3 separate regions of the Homo sapiens genome follow, and all the other regions are linked to region 1. The links are contacts of gene promoters, found by promoter capture Hi-C in human tissues and cell types (Jung and others, 2019). All regions are on one chromosome and are shown on one strand. Each heading gives the region's core, a stretch centred on a gene start or on the middle of the fragment in contact. The rest is flanking DNA. Distances are from core to core; before and after follow the strand shown. Region 1 holds the start of ENGASE (endo-beta-N-acetylglucosaminidase). Region 2 overlaps RBFOX3 (RNA binding fox-1 homolog 3). Region 3 overlaps RBFOX3 (RNA binding fox-1 homolog 3).

Region 1 (5,135 bases), core at 1,670-4,169:
GGGCTTCCACGCCAAGAGCTCCTCCAGCGAAGACAAGTAAAAGCTGATTGGTTTGGTGGTGTCCTTGTCATAATATCTAACTGGTCCGAGGACAGAAACATTGAGCAATTAATGGAAACTATTATAGGATTAATCGAAACATTTTAACAATAACAGAGAAGGAACATGAGAGGGGGCAGGGGCTGACCTGCCCCAAAGCCCCAGGTGTGAAGGTGGATCGGTATTCAGAGCCTCTGTCTCCTCACCTGGCAGGGGGTCCGGGGAAAAACTGACCACCTCTCGAAAGACTGTCTCTTCTTCTTCATCTTTGATGCTAAGCAAAGAGGGAGTTGTACATTTATAAATAAAAACATAAATAGGTAAGAACACTTAGAAGCAAATGGACCAGTTTCATCTAAACACAGAGAGATATTCTCTGCCTTATGTTGTTTAATATTAACTATAGAAACATTGTATAAAGCAAGGAAGTGCCCTGTGATAATCCTAAGGTTTTACCTATATTAGCAACCAGGGCTTGGCTTCCACATGGACACACGTACCAATGATTACTCCTAAGAATAAACCTTACCCTAGGCCAGACGCAGTGGTTCACGCCTGTAATCCCAACACTTTGGGAAGCCAAGGCAGGCGAATCACCTGAGGTCAGGAGTTAAAGACCAGCCTGGCCAACATGGCAAAACCCCATCTCTACTAATACAAAAATTAGCTGGGCATGGTGGCACACGCCTGTAATCCCAGCACCTTGGGAGGCTGAGGCAGGGAGAATCACTTGAACCTGGGAGGCGAAGGTTGCAGTGAGCCGGGACTGTGCCACTACACTCCAACTTGGGCAACAGAACGAGACTCCATCTCAAAAAAATAAATAAATAGAATAAACCTTACCCTCTAAAGCAGCCACCCCAATACCACAAAGACCAGACATAAATACTTCACAGGGTCCCCAGGATTTTCTATGGCCAAGGGGCAATATCCAAATACCCAAAGCACCAGAAAGTTTCAGGTCCTAAGAGAGCAGAGACCAGGCTTCCTCTATAGGCCACACTTCCCTAAGTGCCTTCCGCGCTGTTCATGGATGTATGTTACAGGGAGAAAGAGTTCCTTCGTTCCTTCGGTACATTAACATGGAAAGCTCCTAAATACATCTCAAACCACTTTCTTTTAAAAATTGATTGATTAATTGAGACAGAGTCTCGCTCTGTCGCCCAGGCTGGAGTAAGGTGGTGAAATCTCAGCTCACTGCAACCTCCAGTTCCTGGGTTCAAGTGAGTCTCCTGCCTCAGCCTCCCAAGTAGCTGGGATTACAGGCATCTGCCACCACGCCTGACTAATTTTGTACTTTTAGTAGAGACTGAGTTTCACCATGTTGGCCAGGCTGGTCTCAAACTCCCGAACTCAGGTGATCACACGCCTCAGCCTCCCAAGTGCTGAGATTACAGGCATAAGCCACCATGCCTGGCCTAAAAAATCATTATTATTTTAGGAGCAGTAAGAAGACACCGCAGTGGCTATTTAGAGGCCATGGCACCAACGTTGAGATTCCCTAAATCTACCAACGCCCAAGGCCACTTCTTTGTTCACTGAGTTGTCATCTGCCATCACTCCACTGCCATTCAGAGGCCTGTTGCAAAGAGTCCTCTGTAGCATCTGCCATCACCAAACACTGACCCAGGGCCTCCAGAATGACATTGGGAGACCCTGAGAACTGCAGGGGTCGGGGACGGATTCAAGCAGAGATGCCGCAGTTGTTCCTCTCCACCTTCCTTTTCCAAAGCCCCCTTCCTCGTTGATGTCCTTATTATACTTCAGCCACCCCCTCCCAGACCTTCTCAGAACAATCCCACACCAGGTCACCTTTGTCACCTGTCATTCCTCCACTAGGAGGGAAAGAGCCATCTCCACATTCCTCCTGTCCAAAAATATCTTTCCCAGCAGCCAGCCTTCATCCCATCTTCATGAGGTCTGAAATGCTCAGCAGTCTCACTGCTTTGGGTTTAGAAACAAAGCTACGGCTGCTGTTTCCGGAAGCCATGTCTGTGCTCCTAACTTCTCCCCCTGCAACCTACTGAGGGGGAGTTTACCGGGTGGGCAAGTGCCCCCCAAAGGAAGGAAGCCCAGCCCAGAGGGGCATGTTCGTCCCTTTCTGTCTCTGTGCTTTGGCCCTTTCTGTTCCCCGCCAGTTGGATACCCTACTCCCTATTCTCCACCTACTGAAGGCTTCCTCCTCCCCAAAGACTCAGTTCTAGTGTCACCCCTACAGAAGGCCACCCCTTCCACCAGCCGGCATCCACTGAGCCAGGCATGAGCACCGCCGCCGGGATCTTCCGCATAGACCAGCGACGTGGGAAGCAGGGGTCTGGCCGGGGCGTCGGGATTCCCGCTGGGCCCCGCGGCCACTCGGGTTTGCACCCGTATTTCTGAGATAGGCAGGGGTCACGCACGGGGGCCGGAGGCCGCTGCCCGGCAGTGGCGCGAGGACGGCGGGGCGGACCGGGGCGGAGGGGCGCTGCCACCCTCTGTCCCTTACTGTGCACGGAGCGGACACAGGCGCCGGCCCCCCGCCCCTCGGCGCGCCCGTGCCGGGAAACCTCGGGCCCCGGGGCCACGGACTCTCAGCCCCGCGGATCGGGGTTCACGCGGGCCCCGCAGCCCCACCTCCTTCCCGGCCGCCGCCGCCGCGGCCGCGGCTCCTGATCCTCCTGCTCCTCCTGCGTCCCCGCCTCCGGGGCCGCCAGCCCCTGCAGCTGCCGCCGCCGCCGCCGTGTAGCCGACCGGGTGACCGTCACCGCCGCGGCCTCCATGACACTGTCCGCGCACGCCGAGAGGCAATCGCAGGCCCGGGCCCGCCCCCGCGCCGCGCTCGGCCAATGGGAAGTGCGCAGCGCTGACGCCGCGCTGGGACGGGACTCCGAGCTGACTCCCGGCCAGCGGCCGCGCGGCGGGGACTTTGTTGAGGCGACAGGCCGGGGGCGGGGCCGAGGACGGGGCGGGGCTGTGAGGGGCGGGGCCTGGGCGAGTTCCGAGCCCAGGGTTCGTCGTCGTTCTTGTTGTTGCCCATCATTGGCTATGAGTCCAGGGTGCTAGAAGGCTCTAGAAGGCTTCGGAACGCCCCAATCTTAGAGTTCTCTCTTTAGCCTCACCAGCTTCCTTTGTCAAGCAAACCGAGGTTTATCCCAGAGAGATTAAGCAATCTCCCAGAGGGCACAAAGTCAGCAAATGGTGGCAATGAGATTTTAACTCATGCAGCTAACCCCTATTAAAAGATAATTTTCAGACCGGGCGCGGTGACTCACGTCTGCGATTCCAGCACTTTGGGAGGCCGAGGCGGGCGGATCACCTGAAGTCAGGAGTTCGAGACTACCCTGGCCAACATGGTGAAACCCCGTCTCTACTTAAAATACAAAAATTAGCCGGGCGTGGTGGTGCATGCCTGTAATCCCAGCTACCTGAGAGGCTGAGACTGGAGAATCGCTGGAACCCGGGAGGCAGAGGCTGCAATGAGCCGAGACGGTGCCATTGCACTCCAGCCTGGGCGACAGAGGGAGACTCCGTCTCAAAAAAAAAAAAAAAAAGATGAAAGGTTAGTAGGTTAGTATCGGGCCATGTGGAAGCTGGTGTCCTATGTAGGATGCATAGTTTTCCAGTGAAACACGGATTTCTTTCTACAGCCCCACGCCTGTGCCCAACAGTAGTAGTTGCTCTACCCCTAAGCGTGCAGGGCCTGGAGTGGCACCTCTGCAAGAGTGGCACTGCCCAGCGTCTTAGGCACAAAAGGAGTTCACAGGAAACATGATAGAACAGAGCCCTGAGAAGCCAGAACTCAAGGCTGGGCCCCACAGGGCAAACCAAGGCTCTCCTCCCTCCAGGCCCCAACGCCCCTCCACAGCTAGGAGCTTCCAGTGCTGGGCTGCAGCTGCCGCCCAAGCCAAGTTGACTGGGCCTTTATTATTGTTGCAGACTTTGAACTTTATGAGGCTCCAAGCTTCCATAAACGCCAATGGTGGGAACTATGACTAAGGTTGTTGAATATGGGCCATGGTGCAGGCCAGCCAGTTAGGCAGGAAGGACGGGCCACTCAGAAGCAGGACACGCTGACCCATGGGGAGGACAGAGAAGGCAGAGGGCTCCTCTTTGGGGCTTCAGTCCTGGGAAGCTTACAGTGAGCGAGGGCAGTGGATCCCCAAGTTCCCTCCTGCTGTGTTCAGGGGTGCACCGGACGTGGACAGTCTTGATCTGGGGTGCATGTAACCAGGTGTTCCCAAGCCCTCACCTGCAGCTTAGCAATAAAAATAGATAAACTTTCATCCTACCCAGGTTAGAACACAGTTCTAAGGGATACTTTGAACAGCCTTTGGGTAATGCTCAGTCTCTGGGAGAAAATATGCCCAAACCTCCCTTTTCTTCTCTCCTTTCCAAAGAGTAGGCACCTGGTCTAGAAGAGCAAGAAAGTGAAGGCAGCCTTGCACGCCCCTGAGGACAGAAAGGACTTAGGCCTTGTGGCCTCTTGTTAGCCCCTGTGGCTCGTGGTCTCTCTGGATGTCAGGCCAAGCCTGGAGGGGCCCTGTCTGCCTTGAGCTCACATTGGCTCATACTGGGGCTCTGGATCCGTTTGAGGCCTGAGTGGGCCCTCTAAAACCCTAACCTTCTGGTGTTTTCAGATAACATACAGAGCAATCAGTTAAATTTGAATTCCAAATAAATGATGCCTGGGACATAGGACAAGCTTATATTAAAAAGTTATTGCATATTTATCTAAAATTCAAACTGAACTAGGATGCTGTCTATGCATTTGCTAAATCTGGCATCCCTACCTGTGAATCTGAACTACAGCCTCGGCAGAGCCACCCTGCCCTGTTACAGGGGCCCCTCTGACACCTCCCTGCAGGCTCTTGGCTGTCCTGGGCTCTGCCCACACCAGTACTGGTTGGTTTGGGACAGCTGAGCCTCGGGTCTCCCTGCCTGACCATGCTGTCCCATCAGCTTCCTGTTGCAGGTCGTGACGCAGTGCATGCACTTGCCTCTGCACCCCCCCTCGCCATGCCCAGAGCGCCCGGAGTGGGGACCTAGAGTCACACCTGCTTGCTCTGCCTTCCTCTGCCTCCTCCTTCATGGCCTCCGGGGGAGCCGGAAATGAGAAT
Region 2 (5,135 bases), core at 1,383-3,882, 120 kb before region 1:
GTGCTGTCCGGTCGTAGGGGAGGGAGCACAGAAGGAAAGCCACCCCCGCCACCCCACCACTGGCCTCAGCAGACACTGTGTGCCTGCACAGCTGCAATGGTAGGACAAAATAAGGAGGCCCCAGTCTCAGATATCAGGATAGAGCAGACAGAAACCAAGAAACGTAGACTGAAATGGAGCAGACCCTTTTGCTGGGTGTCTGTGTTTTGGGATGGGGAGATCAGGGCAGGCTTCCTGCCCACACAGACTTGCGTGCGGCCTTACTCTAAGAAGAGACCCAGTTGGCTTTGCATTTTGCATTTCTTCTTCTTCTTTTTTTTTTTCAAGATGGAGTCTCACTCTGTCACCCAAGCTGGAGTGCAGTGGTGCAATGTCAACTCACTGCAACCTCTGCCTCCTGGGTTCAAGTGATTGTCGTGTCTCAGCCTCCTGAGTAGCTGGGACTGTACGCACGAGAGCCACCACCATGTCCGGCTTATTTTTTGTATTTTTAGTAGAAACAGGGTTTCACCATGTTGACCAGGCTGGTCTCGAACTCCTGACCTCAGGTGATCCACCTGCCTCAGCCTCCCAAAGTGCCGGGATTACAGGCATCAGCCACGGCACCCGGCCTGCACTTCTTCTTGAGAGGCTACCCGTGGCCAGGCACCGCGCAGGCAATGGGGATGATAGTGAGCTGATGTCGGTGGGGCTGAGCGGAAAGACATCTGCCCATGTTCTAGACCAGAGCTGCCCAATAGAAGCATAATGCAGGCCACACATGGAAATGCTTAATTCTTCAGCACCCACATTGAGAAAGTAAAACAAACAAAACTGGGGGCACTCAATTATACGCTTTATGTAACCCAATATACCTGAATATGATCATTTTGACATGTAATCTAGATACAAACTATTTTTTCACTCTTTTTATGGTCCCAAGTCATCAAAATCCCATGTGCATTTCACACACACACACACACACACACACACCCACACACACAGGGAGTGTCTCAATTAGAACCGGCCGTGTTTTAGCTCTGAATGCCCACATGTGGCCCGTGGCCCCTGCACTCAACAGCACCAGGTCTACACAAAACTCTTGAAGAACCAGGAAGCAGTTTTTTTTTTTCTTTTGAGACAGACTCTCACTTTGTCACCCAGGCTAGAGTACAGTGGCTGGTGCAATCTCAGCTCACTGCAACCTCCGCCTCCCAGGTTCAAGCAATTCTCCTGCCTCAGCCTCCCCGGTAGCTGGGACTACAGGCATGCCCACCATGCCTGGCTAATTTTTGTATTTTTAGTAGAGACAGGGTTTCACCATGTTGGCCAGGCTGGTCTTGAACTCCTGACCTCAAGTGATCCACCCGCCTCAGCCTCCCAAAGTGCTGGGATTACAGGTGTGAGCCACCGCACCTGGCTTCCAGGAGGCAGTTTGTACCTAGATTCCTGGCAGAACCCCCTTGCTCGGAATCTGGGCTCCCTTATCACAGACTCCTGCTCCACCTCTCAGCCACTAAGGCCCTAAAGAGCTGCAGAGGAGATCAGAGGCAAAGTCCATTTCTACCACAGCAGCTGTGGGAGCGAGGACAGCGCCATGTGAAAGGAGAGCAACATTGGTGTCTTCATGATAAAATCATCTCTGTTTTTTTACCAAAATTTTTTTCCAAGGAAAATGAACCCACAGGGCAGGGAGAACATCAGGGTTTCGGTGCTGCCTTCTGTCAGGCTCGAGCTGCACCACAGTGGGCCTTCCCTCTGCTGGTGATGCCCTGGCCTTCCTCCCTTCATGCTCTCCCACTCCCACCTCCTCCACCATCAGGCCTGCTCCCCTAGCCCGGAACACCTACCTCCCCCAGTGGTTTCCAGCCACCTTCCTGTGGGCCAGCATAAGTGATTCTCCTTCTAAATTGCCTCCCAATAGGCAGTGAGCAGACCACTTTTTCCTGTAGAGAAGAACTTGGCCTACTCAAGGCTCCATTGACCCTCTCCACAGCATTTACTCTCAAAAACACAATTCCAATACAGTAAAGATTCTAGTCTTCCCAGTGTGGATTTCCAATTACCCACACTCAGCCAAGTGGCAGCCACTTCATTATAATTCTGTAATTGCCATATAGAATTCCCATAAATTTGCTGTTAATTTTTAACCACTGCATCCTTCTCTTAGAAAGTGTAGCAATAATTTGAAAATCCATAGACAATATTTTTAAGTGGATAGAGGCAGAGCAGGGGGAATAAATCCAATGGGGCTGGGTTTAGAGAAAATCCTAATAAAACAGCAGTAGGGGGTTGGCGGGGGGAGGTGAGTATGGGGCTTCCTCCAACTTCAATGCAAACATTTCTTCCTAATATATGGTGTGTTGGTGGCAGCAAGGATTGATCAGAGTCTGATCCGGGAAGATCCTGCTCTTAAATGAGAATGGCTGTGTGCACCAGGTTCTCTGTTAATAGGCACATTCCCTGCCCCCACTGGGAGGTAATTTACAAGCCCGGCTTCCGAGCGTAATCTCCCCACATTGTGCTGCTCCCCGGTGCCTCCCAAATTGCAACACGGACCAGGTCTATAAAAGGTGCTTTGGAGGAAACGGCAGCCATGCCGGCATGCCTGCCCCTGCCCCCACCGAGCAAGTGAACACCCAGGTGCTCAGCAGAGGAATTAGCCTGCCTTTCAGGAGATGCTAATGAGGCAAGTTGGAAGCGGATGAGGTTCAGCCAGGAAGGAAACTGTTGGCCCCACAGAAGCCCTGGGCACCAGGGGCTGGCACAGAGGCCAGACAGATAGTCCTCACAGCAGCCTGCTTCCCTCTGGGGGTCAGGGATGGCAAAAGCTGGATCTCCTAAAGGGAGACAGAGCCAGTGAGAGTGTGCAGGGCCCCAAAGGGAGCAGCAGGCTAACTCAACAGGCGAGGATGTTTTGGTAAAAGGTGGCCATCAGCAGGGCTAGCCGCTGGCCACCCCTGCAAAACAGAGAGTTCACTGACACCCGTGCTTGTTTGGGCCCAGGGAGACAGAGGTGTAGGCAGCCACGGCGGCTCCAGGGTCTGGCTGGAGCTGTCCCTGGTGCTGACGGTCTCACTCTCGTGCCCGGTCCTTCCAGCTCTCGTTCCGTGCTGCCAGGAGGGTTTCAGCCATGGACATCCACATCCAGCCCCCGTGTCCACCCCTAGAAAAAGGAGCTATTGCCTCCAAGCTGGGAGGGTTATCAGGCAGCAGCAGCAATAAGAAATTGGGCCACAGAGCGATTTGAAGGTCCTGGTGTTTGATCTATTGCGGGGCTGGCTCCTTGCAGCTTTGCTGCTCCCGAGTTTGGTGACCTGAGAGAATTAAAGCTGCCTTAAATACAGTCTCTGTTGGCTGTATATTAATCAAGCAGGAATCAAAAGTCACAGCATCCTAGGGAAGTAAGAGCAGGAACAGACGGCTCCCCCCCATCCTGATGCAGCAACTCTCAGTGGGAGGAAAGGCCGGGAGCGGCTAAGAGCAGCATAGGGCCCTCAGCTGGCTGCCAACTTCCCACACCTCCTTGCCAGTGAATTCTCAGAAACCTCATGCCTTGGAACTGGAGAGTTGTGTTGGGGCCAAAACATCGCTGGACCCCAATGCTAGAGTGGATCAGGAAAGGGGAGGGATTTTCCTCCCAGGATCAAGAGGGAGGAGACGGTAGGGGGTTGGCAGGGGTGGCAGCCTCAGAATAGCTTCACACCTAACTCAAGACAAGCTTCCACACCCCCACCAGATAGGCACTTCCCCTGCTCTTGGGCAACTTTTAGGGACTAAAACACATCAGCATCCACTGCCCCATCTCTGCTCACCGGGCAGCAATTCACACAACTTCCCTGGTGTATCTTAGGCTGCCGGGAGGGAAGAGGCTGCCCAGGGTCCTGCCTAACCCTGCCTTCTCCTTGCTCTCAAAGCCTGAGAAAGGAACTCTTATCTGGCCTCTGTCATTGTGGAGGTGTGGGGAGGTGAGTCTGTAGGTTACCGTCTGCATCTGTTCCTTTGCTTCCTGGCAGATATGCTCGTCCCCACTCCCTTGAGTCCTGGGACAAGCTCAGCTCCCATGAGGCTTCGTTAGAAGGACCTTGCACCCCTACCTCCCGCCGCCGGCCGCCTCGTCACTCCATGGCCCGGCCCCTGTCTGCAGCTTGGCACTGGCTGCCTAGCAGTGCATCGGCCTCCCCAGGGCCACGCACTCTGCCAGGACAGTAATGCCTCTCCGGGCCTTTGTGTGCCTTGGGCTCCTAATGAGCTTTTAATGAGCTGACGCTTTGGCTTTAGGGGGCATGCAGGGGCAGGGGACGAACAGAGTGCCCGCCCCTCACATTCTGTTTCCCGAGGCCTTGCGGTTGCTTTTTAACTCACTGAGTGCTGGGGCTGGGGCTACAGGCAGCTGCTTTTTCCAGAGTCTTTCAGGTTTGGTCAGAGTTTGAAGGTCCTAACTTCCCAGTCCTGGGGTGCGGGGTACCCCCGGGCCACCATTCCCTCTCTACAGTGCTGCACGTGCTCTCCATGTGGCCTCTCCTTGCCCAGTGCTGGAGGAAGGGATATTGGTTTCTCTGTTAAGTAAGATTTTCTAAAAATTGATGGCAAATGGGAGCACCCAGCCACTTCACTGCTGGAGGTGGACCCTTGCTGCCTCTACCCAGGGGTCAGCTCAGACCCACCCGCTGTTGATGGAAGAACAAACCTTGACCTCTTCCCATGGGTCTCTACTCAGGAACCCTGAATGCTGTTTCCTCAGTTCAATTCTAACCAAACATGGTGCAAATTCATGCCGGCCGTAGCAATGGGAGCTACCCAAATTGTACCCACATTGTGTGTACAGTCTTCCCTTTTGGACACCCTGAGAGTGCAGGGCTCCTGTTCCCCATCGGTATGCAAGAGCTGTGCTCACTCAGCCCCCTCCCTTTATGCACGGCTTTGCTCTACAAGTTTTGGTCAGTGGCCCCAGTCCCTCCTGGGAGCTACAGGGAGCGGCAGTGGCTTCAGCTTCTGGTCTAAGCTCCCCCTTGTCACTCTTTCAAAGCCTTCACCCTTTGAATAAAATTAAGACGGAAAAGGTTTGTGTACCACGAGGCAGAGTTTCTTGGCACTCAGGGTGATAAAAACCTAACTGGGCTCCCCGGAGAGACAGCAGGGTCTCCCCCAGTGGA
Region 3 (5,135 bases), core at 1,036-3,535, 75 kb before region 1:
CCTCCCATCCTCGCCTCCCCTCCTCCCCCTGCAGGTCCCCTCCCATCGCCTCCCCTCCTCCCCCTGCAGGTCCCCTCCCATCGCCTCCCCTCCTCCCCCTGCAGGTCCCCTCCCACCCTCGCCTCCCCTCCTCCCCCTGCAGGTCCCCTCCCATTGCCTCCCCTCCTCCCCCTGCAGGTCCCCTCCCATCCTCGCCTCCCCTCCTCCCCCTGCAGGTCCCCTCCCATCGCCTCCCCTCCTCCCCCTGCAGGTCCCCTCCCATCGCCTCCCCTCCTCCCCCTGCAGGTCCCCTCCCATCCTCACCTCCCCTCCTCCCCCTGCAGGTCCCCTCCCATCCTCGCCTCCCCTCCTCCCCCTGCAGGTCCCCTCCCAGCCCCGTGCCTTTGCTCTCTGCCGGGAAGCCCCTTCCCCTCCTTCCCGTGACACCGAACGTGTCTGGACCCAGAGCCGTCGGGACCACGCGTCCCGTGGGGCAGCTGACCCAGGGTCCCTTCAGCCCCGGCACTGGATTTCGCTTCTCCCCCTGGACTGTGTGTCTTTTTCTTCTCTTGTGTTCCCCTCAGCCCTCCCAGGGCAGGGGGTGGTCAGCACGCAGGGTCTGATGCCGGCTTTGTTGCTTGCCCCGAGTAGGGGGAGCAGCGCGAGGATCAAACCCAGAATCTGCGCCAAGAGCTGCATTTATTGTGGTTCTGAGAGTCCAGGGCCCAGCATGGTGGAGGGATGTGTGTGTGCTGAGCACTTGCGGAGCGTGGACTGGGGAGGTGGCCTTGCCCTGGTGAGAGCCGCACAGCAGCGGGGCGGCCACCAGCACTGCCCAGCCCTCTGTGGCAGGCAGCAAGCCAGGCTCGTTGCCCAACTGAGGCTCCCTCGCAGGCGGCGCTAGGCATGAGCAAGCCCTCGTCCTCCCATTGCGCACACGGGGACACTGAGGCTCGAGCTGAGGTGACCCCCCTGAGGCCCCATGGCCAGTCAGAGGCACCCTGTGGCCTCTGCAGTTCCCTGCCCCCCTCTTTTCTCGGAAGTGCCCATCCCTACCTGCCTCTTCTCTGGCTAAGAATGTGGGGCAGGTGTGGGGTTGCTGGGGAAAGGAGGAGATGGGAGGTGAATCTGTTGCCCCTGCCCCTGGCAGGCCTGGCCTTGCCCCCAGAGGTGGTCAGGTATCCCCTACTTCAGTGACAGCTCTGGTGGCCCTGCACCTCCCATTGTCTCCCCTGGTTCTCAAAGAAGTTGAGCCAGCGCGGCCACCTGTAGAGTGTCCGGCAGTTCAGCTGCCTCCTATCTTGAGTGATGGGCAGGCGGGACCAGGGTGAGGTTGAGGCACTGAAGGAACCTCCTGGGCTGGGGAACAGGGTATGGGGGTTGCGGATGGAGCTGAGTTAGGGGGTTGGCCGCCTGCAGAGCCCAGAGAACGGCCAGGCCTCTACTGTCTGCGTGTCCCAGGCCCACAGCAGCCACTCTGCCCCTTGACCCAGAGCGTCCTACCCAAGCAGAGTGGCCTGGGCCCCAGCCAGGACCCCCCACGAGGCTTTGTGCCTTGAGGGCCTCAGTCTCCTGGGACGTGGCTGCTGCTCTAGGTCGTGGCCCACAGCTGCCGCCCACCGCTGCCCACCACCCTCTTGTCCTGACCTCAAGGGCAGCTCCTGGTTGCCCCTCCCCTGTGGATACCTGAGAGTCCCTCCTTGTCTGCCTCCAACTAGATCCACCCCAAACCCCCACCCTCAACCCCCATCCCCATCCCCCACCCCCACCCCCCACCCTCAACCCCCATCCCCATCCCCCACCCCCACCCCCATCCCCATCCCCACCCTCAGCCCCCATCCCCATCCCCACCCTGGCACTTAGCCTGAGTCCTCAGCGCAGCCACTGTCACTGCTTATTATAACACCTGTCCCCCTCCTGTCTCCAGGCCCCAGAGGAGGAGGCTGGCAGCCATCTCTGTCCCCTCACCCTGGCACTCAGAGATGCTCAGTGGAAGCTCAGCTCATGGCGATGCCCAGCAGCCGCCCTGCCCTGTCCTCCCAGGACCTGCAGGTCCGTTTACTGACCCCACTCGACATCCCAGGGTCTTGGGTCCGACAAAGTGAGAGAAGGCCTGAGCGGGCGGGCATGAGCCCCTAGGCCACCCCCAACCTTCTGCAGTGTGTGGGGACGGTCCAGCTGGCGGGGAAGGCAGTGGTCAAGCAGTCCCGAAGGAGGAATCGTCCACGGACCCCCCCAGGCACACTTCCCACTGCCCCACCCACTTCACAGCCTGAAGCTCCTCCCCACAGCCCACCAAAGTCCTTCTCACTGAGGCCAGGTCCACTCTCGTGTCCAGCCCTGCTCCTCCCCCAGGACAGCAATGCCCGTGTTCCAATCCAACGAGTGGGGAGAGCCACCAGGAGGGGCCGGGGCTGGGCCTGAGCCAAGCCCCCCTTTGTCCTCCCCCGTGCCCCCACTCCCCCCACTGCCTGCATCTGGGCTCCCCGTGGCTGCACCGGGCCAGGGAGGGGTCCCGAGATGCTGCCTCCCACGCTCTACTAAGCCCCAGATGGATGCCCTGCCACCTTCCCAGGCCTTTGCTAATTTGGAAACACCATCCCTGGTGTAACCCCGGCAATAATAGCACAGACGTCGCATTTTCCTGGCAGGCAGCGGGGGTCCCAGCCTGGGTGCTGCGGGAGCCTCCATGCCCTGGAGGATCTCCTTGTGCTTCTTAAGCTTTAGAGTGCGCTGTTCGTCAGTGGTGGGAGCTGCAGGCTGAGTGTTTGAATCCCACCCAGTCCAAGCCCAGAACAGCATGAGGGTTTTATGGTTAGCGTTTCTTGAATGAATTATTCCAGCCCCTTGAAGTTCCTGGAGAAAGCCCCAGGCTGTCCCCCTCCATCCCCCATGACCTTACAAACTCAGGACCTGATCAGTGCCAGCGAGGGTGGTCTCAGCCTTTCCCATCCTCTGGGGACTTTGGCCTTAGCCTACCCCAGCCAGGCCCGCAGAGGCCCTCGGAGGCTGCAGGGAGCCCCGGCGGGGTCGGCCTCCCTCCCCTGCGTCCTCAGACTCTGTGGCCTGTGCTTCTGGGATAGAGTCGCCCAACTCTCATCACTTCCAGGAAGCAACTGCCTCATGTCGGGCACTGAGATTAGATCTTGGTCTTAGTTTATTCTCAACAACCTGTAAGGTGGCCCCAACTACTGTTAGCCTCAGTTGAAGACTAGGAAGCGGATACCCAGAGAAGTTCAGTGGCCTTCGGGAGGCACTCAGTGGCCGGGGACAGAGGCAGGATTGGAACCATGGTCTGGGGGGGTGTGGGGTGCTTCTCCCTCCTCCTGTGGCTCAAACCTGGGTTTGGCTTCAGGCTGTGGCATGAGCCCTGCCCCTTCCACCCCCCAACTTCTGTCACCCAGGCCCCAGCAGTGGGGCACAGGGCATGTTTGAGCTTCTAGAAACATCTAGACTTGGACCCGCCCCAAGCCAGGAAAGAGTTTCTGAGTGAGGCCTGCAGGAGGCAGCCGAGAGGCTTGGGAAGGGACCTTGGGAGGCTGGAGAAGGGACTGTGGGTGGGAAACGGGACCCCAGTCCTCCAACCAGAATGGAGACTCCAGGCACAGAACACAGCTGCAAGGAGTGTTAGCCATGACCGCTCCCAAAACCTAGAGAGGCTACCGTGTTCCTGTCTGCCAGACACCTGTCTCTGGGTCTTTAGGGCCGCACGCACCCTGGGGTCCCACGGTGAGGAAATCTTGGTCACAGGCCAGAGCCTGGCCCTGTACATCCGCCCTCCCCCCGGGGCCCCACGGCAGCGGCGGCTCTGGATGGATGGTGCAGCATTTTGGGTAATGAAATATTCACAGGTCAGTGATTCCTTGAGAAATGATGGGGATCAGTCAATTCCTTTTCAGGGAGTAATTTTCTTCCCCTTCACAGCCTCTGTTTCATGTTGACAGTCATTAGCATGAGAGAGAGGCTGGATCGAAGGCGCTTGGCAAAGCTTGCACCAGCTACTGCCTCGTCGCCCACCGGCAGCCCTGGCCAGGTACTGGGCACCAGGGGCGCAGAGCCTGCCTGGACACACTTGTGGGTGGCGGACAAGGCCCTTGGCCAGCCCAGAACCAGGGGTGTGCAAGGCTGATTGGGCTCCACGTGCTCTGCCTTTTGGGGTCTTGCCAACTACCTGCTTTGGGCTTTGCCAAGGGCAGGGGACAGCCATGGCCCCCAGGATCCTCTTACCAGAAGGTGAGCCCCCCCCCTCCCCAATGAGATCCTCCCGATCTCTGGACCAGGGCCTGCCTCTCAGGGCAGCAGGGAACTCCCCAGGCCTCTTCTGGCGCACAGCATGGGCCAGGCTCCGGAGGGGTTGGGGGAAGGCTGGCGGCCTCACTGCCTTTACAGCCTCTTCCAGGCTTTGGGCTCAAACCCCAACTCTGATGTTCCCTAGTTAATTATCTTCTCTACATCTGGGTTTCTGCTTCTGTAAAATGGGCTGCGTAGGGCTGGTGAACTGAAGCTGTCCTCCCGGCCACCTGCAGAGGTGGGCACTGAATGGATTTCCTGCCTCCTCCAGAAGGCCAGACATGGCCAGCGCCTCCTGTGACCACAGTGTCCTCCTGACTTGGGCCGTGCCATCTCTGAGGACGACACGGACGGGAGGGCAAGGGAGCAGCCTTGGAATTGGAGGGTCCTGGCTCTGGTGTCCAGACAGCAGCACAGCAGGCTGGGAACCTGGCACCGGGGGCTGACCCCGGGACACCCGGAGGCTGGTGCAGTTTCTTATTTTGTCCCCTGTTCCCTGTAAGATCCAAAGTAAAGGATCTCACCCCTGGGTGTGTCCAGGAGGCAGGCAGGGGGCCCGTTTTGATCATGTTTTGCTAAAGCCAAAGGGGGCAGCCAAGGAGCTGCCAGACACCCTGCCCAGGGGCTCACAGCAGGGGCACCCGCCCTCCTCAGGCCTCTGCCCCCTCCTCATGGTGAGGTTGAGCCTGCAGAGAGGAGACCCACCATCTTCCCCAGCTTCTGCAGGACCTCCCAGCAGCAGACCCACGTGACCAGCAGGCTGCAGGCCCAGGCCCCCATGGAGAAGCTTTTCTGGGCCCTGGGCAGGCACCAGCTCTGCTCCAGAGCCAGGTGGGGCTGGACTCGCAGATGGCAGCTGGTCACAC

What was found. The method cuts DNA at HindIII sites, captures the fragments that hold promoters and counts their contacts. A contact is called where the count stands out against the background at its distance.
Region 2: a contact is called between a fragment that was not itself captured here and the fragment with the promoter of ENGASE in region 1, in 2 of the 25 tissues and cell types used here (dorsolateral prefrontal cortex and heart right ventricle).
Region 3: a fragment that was not itself captured here is called in contact with the fragment with the promoter of ENGASE in region 1 in 4 of the 25 tissues and cell types used here (dorsolateral prefrontal cortex, liver, spleen and 1 more).

The regions. Positions count from the first base shown.
Region 1 is chr17:79,072,608-79,077,742 of GRCh38, reverse strand. ENGASE (endo-beta-N-acetylglucosaminidase) reads right to left here and starts at 2,919. Exons shown (of 14, transcript NM_001042573.3): 1 at 2,653-2,919; 2 at 246-313; 3 at 1-80. The coding sequence starts at 2,798. RefSeq lists a silencer at 2,518-3,057. The HindIII fragment of the contact is 14,853 bases long and covers 1-4,435 here.
Region 2 is chr17:79,190,591-79,195,725 of GRCh38, reverse strand. All of the region lies in intron 4 of RBFOX3 (RNA binding fox-1 homolog 3), which reads left to right. Among named protein-coding and RNA genes, the nearest start is that of ENGASE, 120 kb to the right of the region's middle. RefSeq lists an enhancer at 2,258-2,915. The HindIII fragment of the contact is 5,468 bases long and covers 1-5,135 here.
Region 3 is chr17:79,146,647-79,151,781 of GRCh38, reverse strand. All of the region lies in intron 4 of RBFOX3 (RNA binding fox-1 homolog 3), which reads left to right. Among named protein-coding and RNA genes, the nearest start is that of ENGASE, 74 kb to the right of the region's middle. The HindIII fragment of the contact is 7,480 bases long and covers 1-5,135 here.